3 separate regions of the Homo sapiens genome follow, and regions 2 and 3 are each linked to region 1. The links are contacts of gene promoters, found by promoter capture Hi-C in blood cells and fetal thymus (Javierre and others, 2016). All regions are on one chromosome and are shown on one strand. The core of a region is centred on a gene start or on the middle of the fragment in contact, and the rest is flanking DNA. Distances in the headings are between cores, read along the strand shown.

The links. Contacts are between HindIII fragments. The CHiCAGO score rates a contact against its expected background, and 5 or more counts as called.
Region 2: a contact is called between a fragment that was not itself captured here and the fragment with the promoter of NTRK2 in region 1, in 1 of 17 cell types (erythroblasts). The highest score is 5.1, in erythroblasts.
Region 3: a fragment that was not itself captured here is called in contact with the fragment with the promoter of NTRK2 in region 1 in 1 of 17 cell types (megakaryocytes); the score reaches 5.0 in megakaryocytes.

Annotation. Positions count from the first base shown.
Region 1 is chr9:84,668,058-84,671,592 of GRCh38, forward strand. It overlaps NTRK2 (neurotrophic receptor tyrosine kinase 2), which reads left to right and starts at 1,672. Exons shown (of 19, transcript NM_006180.6): 1 at 1,672-1,831; 2 at 2,320-2,903. The coding sequence starts at 2,692. RefSeq lists a silencer at 197-416. The HindIII fragment of the contact is 10,588 bases long and covers 1-3,535 here.
Region 2 is chr9:85,369,355-85,372,889 of GRCh38, forward strand. It overlaps the pseudogene LOC107987089. Among named protein-coding and RNA genes, the nearest start is that of AGTPBP1, 370 kb to the right of the region's middle. The HindIII fragment of the contact is 5,395 bases long and covers 1-3,535 here.
Region 3 is chr9:85,270,200-85,273,734 of GRCh38, forward strand. All of the region lies in intron 3 of LOC105376119 (a long non-coding RNA gene), which reads right to left. Among named protein-coding and RNA genes, the nearest start is that of AGTPBP1, 470 kb to the right of the region's middle. The HindIII fragment of the contact is 5,117 bases long and covers 1-3,535 here.

The DNA of each region.
Region 1 (3,535 bases), core at 422-2,921:
AGCGCCCAGGATCTGTACAAAAAAGCCCCAATAGATGTTTTACGTTCCCTTCGTAATATTTAACGCTTGGCCTAGATCCGAGCATTCACTCTAACGTTCGGTTTCTTGATCCTTCCCATCCCCAAACTCTGCGGGTAGATCAGTGACTATTACTATATTTTGAACGAGACTCCAACCCATTGCTCTCTCGAGAGAGAAGGATTGCCCGCCTTTTTCCCCCGGGCAGGAGCTCGGCGAGGCCAGGAGAGCCGCGCACCGGCCGGGCAGGGACGCGCAGGCGTCGGGCGCCGCTGGTTGCGCATCTGGCGCCAGAGCGCGCCCCCAGCGCTGTGCCCGCCGCGACCCGGGCCATGGGCTGGTGCTCCGGAGCGTGCCGGGCGCTCTCTCCCCGCGCGGGGGCACCAGAGCCCTCGGAAGTGTCAGGCACTGCGGTGTATTTTCCCCGTTCTCTTTTAAATGACTGCGGAAAAACAGATTCCGAGCCGCAAAAGGGAAGACGGATTCTCAGACAAGGCTTGCAAATGCCCCGCAGCCATCATTTAACTGCACCCGCAGAATAGTTACGGTTTGTCACCCGACCCTCCCGGATCGCCTAATTTGTCCCTAGTGAGACCCCGAGGCTCTGCCCGCGCCTGGCTTCTTCGTAGCTGGATGCATATCGTGCTCCGGGCAGCGCGGGCGCAGGGCACGCGTTCGCGCACACCCTAGCACACATGAACACGCGCAAGGTACGGCAGGGGAGCAAGGGCTTGGGATGCCCTACGTGGGGGTGGGCATCGCGGGGAGTGAATCCACGATCTGGGAATGGCTACATCCCGTCAGGTTAAAGGATGAGAGAAAATGACGCGGCGCCACACATCGGACAGGCCAGGGTGGCCACCGAGCATTTAGAATACGCATCAGGCGCGCTCCCTTCCCCTCACATGTCTCTATTTCCCGGGCGTGTGATGGCAGAAAACGGCAGGAAAAAGACCCACTTAGAGAGCTAGAATTGTGTTTGGAGACTCCCTTCCCTCTGCAAAAGCACCAACAGGAAGCCCCTCCAAAACCACCGATCCCCAAATAGGTGGCCCGGAATGGGGGCGGTGATCCTTGGTTACCAATGCAGAACACGTTTTGGTGTTTACAACATTTATTTATTTTTAGGATAGCTTGCCCTCCCTTTTAGGCAGGGTGGGAAAGGAGAACGCGGGGAGGGAGAAGGGAGGGAGGATTCCTATAATAAGAATCAGCGCATTTTTCAGAGCTGAACCAAGCACGGTTTCCATTTCAAAAAGGGAGACAGCCTCTACCGCGATTGTAGAAGAGACTGTGGTGTGAATTAGGGACCGGGAGGCGTCGAACGGAGGAACGGTTCATCTTAGAGGTACCTGGATGTAAATGCACACACACACACAGACACACACACGCACGCGCGTGCATGTCTACACGGCCAGGATGTGTGCGTGTGTGCGCGCGTGTGTGAACTCCCACATGCTGCTGCTGTCTGCTTCTGGCCAGTGGCACCGATGCCTCCCTCCTCCCTGCTCGCCCCCAGATTCCCCTCCCCTCCCTGGTGCTTTTGTCTGGAGGGTGTTATGGGTTTGTGTGTGTATGAGCGTGTGTGTGTTTTTGGATTTCAGACTAATTTTCTGGAGTTTCTGCCCCTGCTCTGCGTCAGCCCTCACGTCACTTCGCCAGCAGTAGCAGAGGCGGCGGCGGCGGCTCCCGGAATTGGGTTGGAGCAGGAGCCTCGCTGGCTGCTTCGCTCGCGCTCTACGCGCTCAGTCCCCGGCGGTAGCAGGAGCCTGGACCCAGGCGCCGCCGGCGGGCGTGAGGCGCCGGAGCCCGGGTGAGCAGCGCAGATAGTGCCCTCGGTCGCCTCGGCCCTCACTGTCTCCCCCTGGGGCGGCCTCGGCTACTCCCCAGGTGGGACGTGCCGCGCCACCTGCCCGCGCCACCGGCACCCAGCGGCCGTGGCGGATTCTGCAGCATCATTCGGGGGCCCCGTCGCGGAGCCAAAGCCGCCGGCAGTCTCCGCATTCCCCTTTAAAGGGTCCTTCGCCCGGCCTGTACCATGGAATCCTGTCTTGGGGACCCTTTCCCTACCTCCCCTCCCTTGGCCTCAGGCTCGAAGAGAGAGTGGGCACACTGGTGGCTCCAGCGGCGTCAGTGCCATCGCGGGGCAAGTTGATTCCTGGGCCGGAGCTGGGCACTCATCCATCCACAGTCTCCGGGCTGGGGTCGGGGTGGGGATGACGCGAGCAGAGAGGGAGAGTGCCCCAATTAGTGGTGTTGGGGGTCCTACGCTCAGTCTTACGCGTGTCTGTTTGTCCTCAGCCTCGAGGTGCATACCGGACCCCCATTCGCATCTAACAAGGAATCTGCGCCCCAGAGAGTCCCGGGAGCGCCGCCGGTCGGTGCCCGGCGCGCCGGGCCATGCAGCGACGGCCGCCGCGGAGCTCCGAGCAGCGGTAGCGCCCCCCTGTAAAGCGGTTCGCTATGCCGGGGCCACTGTGAACCCTGCCGCCTGCCGGAACACTCTTCGCTCCGGACCAGCTCAGCCTCTGATAAGCTGGACTCGGCACGCCCGCAACAAGCACCGAGGAGTTAAGAGAGCCGCAAGCGCAGGGAAGGCCTCCCCGCACGGGTGGGGGAAAGCGGCCGGTGCAGCGCGGGGACAGGCACTCGGGCTGGCACTGGCTGCTAGGGATGTCGTCCTGGATAAGGTGGCATGGACCCGCCATGGCGCGGCTCTGGGGCTTCTGCTGGCTGGTTGTGGGCTTCTGGAGGGCCGCTTTCGCCTGTCCCACGTCCTGCAAATGCAGTGCCTCTCGGATCTGGTGCAGCGACCCTTCTCCTGGCATCGTGGCATTTCCGAGATTGGAGCCTAACAGTGTAGATCCTGAGAACATCACCGAAATGTGAGTTCCTGGAGCTTTTCCTCCTTTTTCTCCTTGCCCCTAGGGCCCGAGCTGGCCAGGTGGGTAGGTCCTGGAAGTGAATGCTGTCCCAAGAGTGGGGAGAAGTCAAAGACAAGGGATGCAGGACAGGGTCATCTGTCAGTTACCTGCTGTTTCACTGGCTTGGGACTGCTAGTGCAGGGAGAAGTGTGACACTTTAGAATAAGTTTCAAATATAGATATACATATGCCGATTATATATTTATTCCTCGTGGGAAGGAACTCACTATGCTTTTTATATTTCAAAGCTCTGCTGGGTGTGCTTTAGGCTTTCAGTATGCACTAACTTAGTTTTGGGCATTTTTGTTTCATAAAGTGCTGTGTGTATGTTGTGTTAGAAGTTCCATTAATATTCACTAGAAAAGAGGTTAAAATAATTAACTTTCCCAAATCTGTTGAGGGAAGTGACAGTCTCTCCCTTAACATCTTTTTTGAGATTTAAGTTAACCAATTTCCCTTTTCATTTTATATATCGGATTTTGCTTAGGAGATGGCATCCAGAGATGGCCTTGAAAATGATCTGTAAGAGGAGAAGTTCTGAGTGTTGAAATGCACTCGCTCAAAAGAAAAAAATATGATAGTTGGAAGCCTAA
Region 2 (3,535 bases), core at 523-3,022, 700 kb after region 1:
AGTCTCCCAATGTCCCCACCCAAAAGAGCTTGAATATTTATCTAATTGTATATTAGATTGTCATCTAATGAAATTGTGTTTTCAAACCCTGTATAATTTAAACACATCTATTTCATTTGGGGCTTTTCAAAATATTATTTCCCATTTCTGAAAATATTCATGAATTTAATTTGAAAAAAATACAAAACCTTGGAAAGATTCCTTGAGAAACTTTGATTATTTTAAAGTTCCAATTCCACAAAGTGAAAAAGCAAACAATCTGACAGCAACTAAATGCACTGAGGGGGGGCGGGGAACAAGACAATTATTGCATTCGAAAAGGCAATTTGAAACATTTTCACAGATAATAGATACCATAAATCTTTGTCTGATCCACTAACAAATATTTTTTCAGATAATGAACAGCTGATTTTTATATCTAAAACCCCCAAATTCCTATTTTATTCTTACAGTTCACATAGATTGATCAAAGTTGACTGCTTGATAAAGCCAATGGAATTTCCCATGATTTTTGTGCACTTTAGTTTCTAGTGCTGACATTGAGAGAAACCAGGGAAAGTTCTTTGGTCCTGGAGCAAATTTTTTTTGACTTTTATTTTAGGTACATGTGCAGGTTTGCTGTGTTGGTAAACCATGTGTCATGGAGCTTTGGTATACAGATTATTTCATCACCCAGGTAATAAGCAAAGTGCCTGATAGGTATTCTGTCTGCTCCTCTCTGTCCTCCCACTCTCAACCCTCAAGTATGCCCCAGTGTCCATTGTTCCCCTTTATGTGTCCATGTGTTCTCATTGTTTATCTCTGTGTTAGTCGTGGTTCTCTAGAGGGACAGAATTAATAGGATAGATATATATTTAAAAGGGAGTTTATTAAGTAGTATTAACTCATACAATCACAAGATCCTACAATAGGCCATCTGCAAGCTGAGGAGCAAGGAAGCCAGTCCAAGTGCCAACGCTGAAGAACTTGGAGTTCGATGTTTAAGGACAGGAAGCATCCAGCACGGGAGAAAGATGTAGGCTGGGAGGCTAGGCCAGTGTAGCCTTTTCACGTTTTTCTGCCTGCTTTATATTTGCTAGCAGCTGATTAGATGGTGCCCACCCAGAATAAGGGTAGGTCTGCCTTCCTCAGCCCACTGACTCAAATGTTAATCTCCTTTGGCAACACCCTCACAGACACACCCAAGATCAATGCTTTGCATCCCTCAATCCAATCAAGTTGCCACTCAGTATTAACCATCACAAGTCTGCCCCTTGTCAACTTGAACCCATACACGTCTCCTGAGATCACACATAATCTTCAAATAAAGACAATAATAAGGTCATAATTACACCTAACATAATACAACTATCCTTCGTACAACCGGAAATGCACCAATCCTCAACCCAAATACTATTACAGAAAGTTAACAGTACTTAAATGCTGATGTGAAGTCAATAAATCTTATGTCACATGATAAAGGAAAAAGGAAATAAAATGAAGATGTTTTCTTAGTACAAGTGTATACATGCACAAACATGTTTTTAACAAAAGAAGGAGGAAATACTCATGACAATTACAGTCCTCATTTCTGCAGCTGGTCCCCTGGTTATAGCTGGTATTAATGACTACCTTCTTCTACTACTCATTCTGTATTCCCTTTGCTGTCAGCAAGCACCTCAGCAGGTCATAGCTTTTTTCCTGGTGGAGTGAACTAAACCTTCATTCCTGAAGGGCCTGGGTCATTTGTAGTCCTGACCAGATTGGGCTGTTGTAGTTTCCCATTAACCTTAATCACAGGTCATGGTAATACTAAGAGACACCGTAATGGATCTCCTGTATTCCATACATACTCTTCCTTCCCTCCATTGTGGAATAGTAGACTGATTTCATCTTCACAGTCCAGGTCAATCACCACAGCCAATGCTGTAACTCCCTTCTTAGCTTGTTGACTTAAATGTAGGAGGAGCCCACAGTGTCCAGGTGGCAATCTTAACTTCCAGTTTAATGGCATTGTCATGTCTCCTGGTGGCAGCATTCCTCCCTCTAGAACTAAGACCTTTAGGCCAGCAGAACGTAATGTAGAGGGAACAGGAAGCAAAAATTTTGCTAACGAATCACTAGGGGTGTTGGTGAGTGGTGCCACTTCCACTTCCACCCCTTGATTCCTGGATCTGTGAATCCTGCCTATGGCAGATTCAGTACCATATATTGGACGCTGATTCAGAGTATACACAACCTTTGGGAGAACTTTGCCGCAGCCATGCAAAGTATTATCATCTAGTTGGCATTGTAATTGATCGTAATTGTAACTTCAAATGGCCATTCCACCATTCTATCAATCCAGCTGCTTCAGGATGATGGGGAACATGGTAAGACAAGTGACTTCCATGAGCATGAACTCACTGCCACACTTCTTTAGCTGTAAAGTGAGTTTCTTGTTCAGAGGCAGTGCTGCGTGGAATACCATGACAGTGGATAAGGCGTTCTGTGAGTCCATGGATGGTAGTCTTGGCAGAAGCACTGCATGCAGGATAGGCAAACCCATATCTGGAGTAAGTGTTTATTGCAGTGAGGACAAACCTCTGCCCTTTCCATGATGGAAGAGGTCCAATATAATCAACCTGCTACCAGGTAGCTGGCTGATGACCCCGAGGAATGGTGCCATATCAAAGTCTCAGTGTTGGTCTCTGCTGCTGGCAAATTGGGCACTCAGCAGTGGCCGTAGCCAGGTCAGCCTTGGTGAGTGGAAGTCCATGTTGCTAAGCCCATGCATAACCTCCACCCCTGCCACCATGGCCACTTTATTCATGGGCCCAGTGGGCGATGACAGGAGTAGCTGGGGAAAGAGGCTGAGTGGTGTCCACAAAATGGGTCATCCTATCCACTTGATTATTGAAATCCTCCTCTGCAGAGGTCATCTGTCAGTGAGCACTCACATAGGATACAAATATCTTCACAGCTTTTAACAACTCAGAGAGGTCCATCCACATACCTCTTCCCCAACATTCTTTGTCACCAATTCTCCAATCATGCTACTTCCAAGTCCCTGACCATCCAGCCAAACCATTGGCTACAGCCCATAAGTCAGTATGTAATTGCACATCTGGCCATTTCTCCTTCCATGCAAAGTGCACAACAAGGTGTACTGCTCGAAGTTCTGCCCACTGGGAAGATTTCCTTTCACGCTGTCCTCCAGGGATATCCTAGAAAGGGACTGTAGTGCCACAGCTGTCCACTTTCAGGTGGTGCCTGCATATCGTGCAGAACCATCTGTGAACCAGGCCCTAGTCTTCTCTTCCTCTGTCAACTGATCATAGGGAACTCCCTATGAGGCCATTGGTGCAGGCTGGAGGAGAGAAGGTAGGGTGGCAGGAGTGGAGATCATGGGCATTTGAGCCACTTCCTTATGTAACTTACTTGGCCTTCAGGATCTGCTTAAGCCCAATCACGTATATACCACTTCCATTTGATGATGGAATGCTGCTGTGCATGACCCACTTTATGGCTAGATGGGTCAGAAAGCACCCAGTTCATGATAGGCAGTTCAGGTTGC
Region 3 (3,535 bases), core at 698-3,197, 600 kb after region 1:
GTGGGGTCTAGGAGTGCCCCAGACCAACATTTCCAGGTTCTATACATAGATATGTCTTCACTTTGTTCTCTGGTGTGAGATTTTCAGAAACAGACCTCTGGGTCTCCTCTCTTTCCAGCTAATTCTCCTTCCTTCTATTCATACTGTTTCCTGGCATGATAGGAAGGCTACTCTGTTCCTATTAACACAAGGCATGGGTAAGGGAGTAGTAAGAATTAATATTTACTAAGACCCTACTATGTGCTAAGCATTGCCTACATGCATTCAACCTCTGCCAGTCTCCTGTGAATTGGATATTATTGTCCCAGTTTCATGGAGGCTTAGAAAAGAAGATTGCCTAAGACCACACAGCCAGGAGGCGTCTGACTGAGAATTCTAATTCAACCCGCAATGGTTTCTTTTTCCTTTCCTTTTTCTTTTTCTTTCTTTTTTTTTTTTTTTAGACCGAGTCTCACTCTGTCACCCAAGCTGGAGTGCAGTGGCGCCATCTCGGCTTACTGCAACCTCCGCCTCCAGGGTTCAAGTGATTCTCCTGCCTCAGCCTCCCGAGTCACTGGGATTACAGGCGCCTGCCACCACGGCTAATTTTTTTTTTTTTTTTTTAAGACGGAGTCTCGCTTTGTCACCCGGACTGGAGTGCAGTGGCACGATCTCGGCTCACTGCAAGCTCCACCTCCCGGATTCACACCATTCTCCTACCTCAGCCTCCCGAGTAGCTGGGACTACAGGCACCCACCACCACGCCCGGCTAATTTTTTGTATTTTTAGTAGAGATGGGGTTTCACCATGTTAGCCAGGATGGTCTCGATCTCCTGACCTCAAACCCCCGTGTTTTGAGATTTCAGGTGCTAACTTGGTGAAACCCCATCTCTACTATAAGTACAAAAAATTAGCCAGGCGTGGTGGTGGGCGCCTGTAGTCCCAGCTACTCGGGAGGCTGAGGCAGGAGAATGGCATGAATCCGGGAGGTGGACCTTGCAGTGAGCCGAGATCGCACCACTGCACTTCAGCCTGGGCAACACTGCAAGACTTCGTCTCAAAAATAAATAAATAAATAAATAAGTAAAATTCCTGCCCAATCCCACCTCCCATTTCTGGGCCCTTCTTCAGCTTCTTTTTGCCCATTTCATTTTTATATCACATCAATACATGTATACTGTATTTTTCCAAATATAATATGTATATGTAATTTTTAAAATACAGGTTTTTCAAAGTCAGCCCCACTTACCTCCATCAATCCTTGCGCTAAGCAAATATGATCACTTTTTAAAGTTTTTGGTTGCTTCTTGAGAACTATTATTAACCTTTACATCCCTCAGATTACTTGTCATGGTTCTTGGCTAATAGTAAGTGCTGAGTTGATTTTGGCTAAATGAGACTGACTTCCCGCAGACTTTCACAAGAATACATTATCTTGCCTTTGAAATTTTCTTCTTCCTTTTCTGAAACTCTCCATACCACTTTATTCTATATTTTAATTCCCTTTGGCCTTCCAAACCCCTTTTTTCCTTTGGAAATACAACAAATATCATTAAACATGAAAAGCAATAGGGGGAGGACAATATATAAAATAGTTCCACATTACAGAATAATTACTAAGAACTGAAGAATTTTTTTTTAACCAACTGCACAAACTAATAACCAAAGTTTGGAAACGTCAAGATCTATGATCAATTCCTTTCATAAAAGGTGAAGGTCATTTTTAATTAGTGAGTCGATTACTTCCATTTAATGGATGCATGAAATTCTTAAAAATTCAACTCAACAACCATTTACTGAGCACTCAGTATGTGTTCATTGTTGCCTGAAATCTAAAGATAGCTAAAATGTAGCTATGTCCTTAGAGGAGCCCGCTAACCAAAGCAGGAGATAGAGACATAAGTGAAGATACAAGGTAGTGATTATGGGGCTGGTGGAGAGAGAGGAGGACTCAGAGGACACATATAGACATCCTCAATTTCAAGGTGGAAAATGATGATTATGGTGCCACTTTCAGATTCCACCTGGCGGCAGAATTAATAGTGGCTTGTGCACCCTGAAATATAGTTACACACTTCCCCCACTTTTTTAGAAGATGTAAGGAAGGTAAACTTAAGCCTAATGTAATCACACATCCAAAAATCAGTGAATTTCAAAAGGATACCATTTTTAATTATGCATATAAATATATTCCATTAGTGCCACAACCTCCAGCAATCATTAGGAATCATTTTTTATTTTCTCTGGGGTCTCAACAGGTATTGACCATTAACTGCCATGGGAAGCCCCTTCACTATTTGTTTTCTGACTACTTGCTATCTTCAGTGCCCTAGAAGAATCTTCGACAGATTATCAGAACATTAAATATAAATACAGAACACTAAAGAAAATCTTTAAGAATTCATCTCTTGTCAAGGTTATCTTGAAGACAACCCAGGTCAAAGGCATATTGTCTGAAACCTGAGGTATAGTTGCCCGGATTTACGAAGTGAGGGGTTTTGGGGGTGGGTAGAATGTTAAGGAAGAAATCGATCAGAAATAGATTTTTGTTCTCAGAGTACCATACAAAGCATGAACTTCCCCCTAAGTCTTTGTCTTTTTAAATGTGGTATCCCATCCATTAGATGCTCATCATACAGTTATTTTGTCTTTTTATTTTAACTAGCTTAGATAGAACAATGCTGTTCTTGCAAAGCCTTACCACAGGAAAAGAATATAGGAGAAGGGGAAGATCTGAACCAAGTCACAACGAAGTAGGGAAAGTTTGTTTCTGATGTTCTTACTCCCCTTTCAAATGCCTTCCATAGCCACCTGTCTCAGGATGGCTGCCTCCAGAAGAAGATCGTAAGATAAGAATATCAGTGCAAGTAGTTTTCAATTTTAAAAAAAAAGTGATCTCAGAAAGCTCTGATAAGGGAATAGGACAATAAAAAGGGGAAAGGAAGGAAACCAATAAAGGATGTATTATCAAGTAACTTACTACTAGGACAACTGGGGTTCAACTCCAATGAGGACTCCGATAAAGAATACAAAACCTTTCTAGTTATCCCCAGCAATTATCCCCAGCAAGAAATGAGAAAGCTGGGGTATTCATCCACCAATCCCTGTCCATCATTGATTTCGAGCTGTTTCCAGAGGCATGAACTACCAATGCTTCTGACCCTCCCCATACAAAGCCAAGAGAAAGCCCTCATGTGGAGAGTTGGAGGTACCTGCAGTAGGAGGAGGTGAGTACGCACTAGAATGGCGCAGGCCAATGTTATATGGGCAGGACATCAACAGTGACTACTGCACCACCTTATCTTTTATTTACTCAGCGTTTCTTTCTTTTTTTTTCTTTTTCCTTTTTTTTTTTTTTTTTTGAGACAGAGTCTCAGTCTTGTTGCTAAGGCTGGAGTGCAATGGTGCGGTCTCGGCTAACCGCAACCTTCACCTCCTGGGTTCAACCAATTATCCTGCCTCAGCCTCCCTAGTAGCTGGGATCACAAGCATGTGCCACCATGCCTGACTAATTTTGTATTTTTAGTAGAGACGGGGTTCCTCATGCTGGTCAGGC